2 separate regions of the Homo sapiens genome follow, and region 1 is linked to region 2. The links are contacts of gene promoters, found by promoter capture Hi-C in human tissues and cell types (Jung and others, 2019). All regions are on one chromosome and are shown on one strand. The core of a region is centred on a gene start or on the middle of the fragment in contact, and the rest is flanking DNA. Distances in the headings are between cores, read along the strand shown. Region 1 overlaps MAP3K4 (mitogen-activated protein kinase kinase kinase 4). Region 2 holds the start of ACAT2 (acetyl-CoA acetyltransferase 2).

Region 1 (2,700 bases), core at 125-2,624, 1.2 Mb before region 2:
TCATAGTTTTCCATAATAGATACAGGTTACCTTTATAATCAGGAAAATTTCTAACTGATTAAGTTACTTTTATTAAGCGAGAAGATTTCACTCACTTTTCTCAGGCAGTAGCTAGATCAATCTAGTTTTATTACGTGAAAAGATTTCATTCATTTTTCTTAGGCAGTGGCTAGATCAATTTGAAAACTATTCCTCTTACAGTGTATAACATTTAAAAAATGAAAAGAAAATTAATCCAAGTTATAAAGACACAAGTTAAATGAACTAAAAAGAATTTCCACAGAAAAAGACAGCTGTGCCTATTAACCTAAACAATCACAATCAGTAGCGTTACAGTTCTTAATTTAGCAGCATGATTTATGATGATCCAAGGGCCAGCCAGAATTCCAAACACCTGTAGGAATAATATGCAGAATAAACCACAACTAAAGTAAGAGAGAGAATCTGGAAAAGCTAGATCCAAAAAAAAAAAAAAAAAAAAACCTTTTTCTTATTTCTATGGCTTCTGCAGACGTTGGGGGGGAAATGTTTCTTGAATGGAGATTATTGCAGCTATTTTTAAAAGTATCCAGCCTCAATGCATATTTGGTGGCTTTTTAAGAAAATCACTATAGGATTTGCCTCTTTTACCTTAAGCCCAAAAAGAGGAAGAAAGAGAAATGTAATAAAACAGCTAATACTGAGCACTTACTATAGAACAGGAATTACTTAATCTTAATAACAACCTAGGAAGATGTTATTATTTTTGCCTTTCAAATGCGGAAACAGACTGAGAGAGGCTAAATTACTTCCCCACAATCCTACTGCTAGCAATCAAAAGGTAACATTCAAAGCCTATCTACTACCAAAACCTATGCTCTGCCTCCTTCATACAAGTGTCAGCAAAGAACCTGCTGTTAGGCAACGAGCCAGGAATTAGGCAATAAAAGTAAGCAAAACAACAGACGATGCCCCAGCCCTCATGGAGTTTACTGAAGGCAAACATAATAAACAAATATGTACACAAATATATAATTACAAATGGTGGCAAACTGCAGGGGCTCTGAGGACACATAACAGAAGGATCTCATCTATTCTGGGGGGAAGCGGGGGAAATGTCAAGGTGGACCCTAAAGTAAGCAATGCTTAAGACCTAAAGTGAAACTGCTGTACCCTAACATAGATTACATATGACATATATATCATGCATATACAGAATATATAGATGTGAAATATATTGTTTGAATTATTTGATAACATTTATAACACATAGCTTGAGACATACATGATTCCACCTATAATTAATAACTTGATAAAAATATTTTTGTAAATATTTTTTGTAAATTTTTCAGTATTTGGATTTGGATTTCTTATATATGTGTACACATATATATGTATATACATATATACTTATATACACTTGTATTATATATGTGTATATAATATATATTATATATTATATACATATGTGTATATTATAATATATAATATATATTATATACATATGTGTATATTATAATATATAATATATATTATATACATATGTGTATATTATAATATATAATATATATTATATACATATGTGTATATTATATATAATATGCACTATGTGTGCATATATATGCATATTATACACTATATATGTGTGTGTACATATATGTATAGTATAATATACATATATGTATGTGTACACATGTGTATATGTGCGTACACATGTGTATGTGTGCATACACATGTGTGTATATATGGGTGTACACATGTGTGTATATATGGGTGTACACATATGTGTGTATACAGATGGGTGTACACATATATGTGTGTGTATGTGTGTGTATATATGGTGTACACATATATGTGTGTATATATATCAGGGGAAAATGAGTTCCTTTCTTTTCTTAAGGACTGCTCTATGTGAAAAATTTTAAACACAGGTTACTGTTTCAGAGAAAGATCAACAAATTACCTAAATTATTCACATAATGCCAATCCCAATTTTACTCTAAAATTAATCCTAGATTTTAAACTGATCTTTACAATTCTTGTAGTTTAAGGATAAGCAGCCAAGAGAACAACCTTGAGAGACAAGCATAGATACATTCTTACTCTTGCCTTCGGGTAACAATGCTGTCTTCAAGAAGTAAGTATTGCCGAGCTTCTTCAAAATTCCATTTGATCATTTAGTAGACAAATAGTGTACTTGTTCTCCTGACTCAGTCTCAAGGGACAAGGTACAAAGTATAACAGCATCCATTTTATTTTGGGTAGAGCTATGCTTTTAAAACTGAGGGTCACAACCTATTTGTGGGTAATAAAATCAATTTAGTAGGTTATGATGAACAATTTTTAATAGAACAGAATAAGAATTATTTGAGTATCATATATTGCAAGGTCAAATACTGTTTCAAAATTGTTTTCTTTTGGTTATAAGGCACACACACACTGTCATAAAATATATTTCTTACTGTAGGTCACGACCATAAACACAGTTTCAAAACCACTACTACAGACCAGAAGTTAGAATCTTACTGTCTTCTTGATGTACAGACCGACGCCTGAAAATAACAACGTATCTGAAAATTTCTGAGCATTGGCTCTTCTTTATTCTGCGAGCAAGAAATAAAAGTTTCACGGGGGAAAAACGTTGTGGATGATGAGTTTTAAGAGGATTTCATATTTTCTATTTGCATTTTTTTCTAAAAACAAATCTTTCATCTCGTTTGA
Region 2 (2,710 bases), core at 17-2,516:
AAAGTGCTGGGATTACAGGCGGGAGCCACCCTGCCTGGCCAAGAAGCTGAGTCTCAAGCTGGATAGAAGCTACTGACAGGGCTGGAAGAAGGGGGCCAACAGGAGGAATCATAACAGAGGGAACTCTGAGCAAAAGCAAGGAGGCAAGAACTTGAGTGAGTGAGAGAGTGTGTGAGTGTGTGAGAGTGTGTGTGTGTGTGTGTGTTTATGGGCTGTTTCTAATAAGCCTGACTTCTCCTGGAATCACTGAGACTTACCTGCTGCCAAGACATGTCCAAAGATGACCTCAGACACATCTTCCGGAGCCACAGTGGCCCTCTTCAAGACTTCTTTGATGACAGTGGAGCCCAGGTCCTGGACAGGAACAGCAGCTAAGGCACCATTGAAGGAACCTACAATAGAAAGGCGGAGAGCGTGGACATCACAAGCCTGCGGGTAATACGGGAACCACCTACGAGCAGGGGAGCCTCATGACCCTGTTTGGCAAGGCCACGCGAGGAGGCAGTGCCCTCTCCTCCCACACGTTCCTACACCTGCTGGTCTGAGCAAAGGTCAAGGTGGGTGCCACAACTCGCAGCAGCCGAGGGCTGGACAGGCGACCTCCAGAACGGCCTAGGGACGCCGCTGTAGCCCTTCTATTTCCCCAAATCCGAAGGACTGGATGCGACCCCATGCTTCCCAAACAAAAGGAACCGGCGGGTCAAGGGCGTTGAAAACCATGCGGCACGAAGGAGACGAAGTCACGACTTCTAGCCATTGTGTGACAGCCCGACCCCAGCCCAAAGCCGGGCTCAGACCACCTAGCAGTTCCGCCCCTGCCGCAGGCATTACCGATGGCGCCTCCCGGAGCCGGCCAATCAGGGGCCCCGGAGGAGAACACCTCCCTACGCCAACCAATGGGAGAGGCAGGCCACGCGATGGCTCTACCCCGGGAGCCAATCCAAGCACGAGGGACGGAGTGCGCACATCGGGAGAGGAGAGGGTGGGGCTGTAGCACCAGGTCAGGGAACGCGGGAGCCGCAGGGTTCCAGGGATCCCGCGGCTCCTCGCGGCTTGGCCTGACCGGCTTCCTCCACATACGCCCCTCTCCTACACAAGTCCGGCCCTCGGCGCTCCTGCCGAAGCAGCAGGCGCCTCGGACTCTGCGCGGCTCCCGCCGGCCACTCACCTATGATGGTCCGCGCCGCCGAGACGATGACCACAGGATCTGAGCCTGCATTCATCTTGCTTCTCCTGCCGCCGTCTGCCCTGCGCTGCCTGCAAGCTAGGCAAAGCTCCTCCTCGCAGCCCACAGGCCTGCCGCGGGCGGGACCTGAGGTAGCCCCGCCCCTCGCCCTCCACCTCCCCGCGCACCACCTCCCCGCGCATCCCACTGTGCGCAGGCGCAAGGCCGGAGCAGGGGCGGGCGGAGGCGCGCGGGGCGCGGGGCGCGGGGCGCGGGGCGGAAGTGAGGCCGGGGCGCGGGGCGCGGGGCGGAAGTGAGGCCGGGGTCTGGGCTTGCGGGCAGAACCGCGGACCTCGGACGCATTTACAGAGCGCCTGAAACCCCAGTGTTTCTGGACACCCCAATGTTGGAGTTCCCCGACTTGACGTCTTGGGCTTTTTTTTAAAAAATCTTAGGGTTTCTCGAAACAGTAAAGACTGGGGGGTGACAAAGACTTATCTCTCGTTCAGCTCAGGACTGGAATCCCACGGGCGAGAATCTCGAGTGCGAGCCCGGCCCGCGGCGGGTCTCAGCACAGCTCTGATGGGTCCTTTTGCTCTCGGCGGCTTCGGGAGGTCCTATGCGTTTCTCCTGGCGCCAGTCATTCGCTCGCGTGAGGGGCTTGCTAGGAGCGTCTCGGTGCGAGCCCCCTGCCTTCTAAGATCAACTCTGGCTGTGAACGGGTGAGGACGCCGGGAGCGTCTTAGCGTCACAAAAGTTCCTTTGGTTGACGTTTGGACAGTGAAAGGAGCATGTAACAAGTGGGGTCAGTTTTGTTTAAAACCCTTTCTGACTTCCCAGCCTCTTACTGGGCAAAGTTCATAATTTTTCTGAGCTTTCTAGGGTTTCCAGGCAAGCTTATGAGGGGCCACCGTTACAGCAACTTGTTGGGAACACCTGGATAGTGGAACAAGAAAGCTTTGTCACAAAGTCATGAAGGGGAAAACTGTTGACGGACCTGGAGAATCTTCCTGAAGAACTTTAAAGTTGATTGAAAGAATCATTAAATCCTGGAAACCTACATTAAGACTTTGCAGAGATATGCGGATGGGTCAGATAAATCAGAGAAGGTAAAGAGTGTAGGCCCCAGAGGTGGGGCAATAGAGAAGGAAAAAAATTGCATAACAGTGCAATTTCAGGAGAAATCTTTAGGGTCTGGAATAGTGGTGAAATCAGCTGTCTACTCTGCTAAGAACTCAGCAGCACACTGAAGTCTCTTCAGTTGTCTTCAATGTGTTTCCTGTCCCCTAACATATCTGAGTCCAAGGAATTCAAGGAATGCCTCCCGTGGCTTTTGCTCTATTCTATCCCATTTTCCCCTTACTCCCTGGCCACTTCTGAGTCTTTGTGGGCTTACTCTCACATCCCCTTAACATGTTCCCCAAGGCTCCTACTTTGCACCAGCTCCCTGGGTAATACCAGTCATTCCTACGGCATCAATCACCACCTGTATACTGACAAGTCTGAAATCCTTACATCTAACCTCGTCTCCTAAGCTGACTGACC

Evidence for each region. The method cuts DNA at HindIII sites, captures the fragments that hold promoters and counts their contacts. A contact is called where the count stands out against the background at its distance.
Region 1: a fragment that was not itself captured here is called in contact with the fragment with the promoter of ACAT2 in region 2 in 1 of the 25 tissues and cell types used here (hippocampus).

The regions. Positions count from the first base shown.
Region 1 is chr6:160,999,833-161,002,532 of GRCh38, reverse strand. All of the region lies in intron 1 of MAP3K4 (mitogen-activated protein kinase kinase kinase 4), which reads right to left. Among named protein-coding and RNA genes, the nearest start is that of MAP3K4-AS1, 8.8 kb to the right of the region's middle. RefSeq lists an enhancer at 605-1,106. The HindIII fragment of the contact is 7,469 bases long and covers 1-2,700 here.
Region 2 is chr6:159,760,601-159,763,310 of GRCh38, reverse strand. It overlaps ACAT2 (acetyl-CoA acetyltransferase 2), which reads right to left and starts at 1,266. Exons shown (of 9, transcript NM_005891.3): 1 at 1,169-1,266; 2 at 258-392. The coding sequence starts at 1,223. SOD2-OT1 (SOD2 overlapping transcript 1) reads left to right here and starts at 979. Exons shown (of 2, transcript NR_037166.1): 1 at 979-1,317; 2 at 1,675-2,710. It also overlaps a transcript of SOD2 not described here. RefSeq lists silencers at 1,294-1,443, 1,464-1,523 and an enhancer at 1,954-2,013. The HindIII fragment of the contact is 8,135 bases long and covers 1-2,710 here.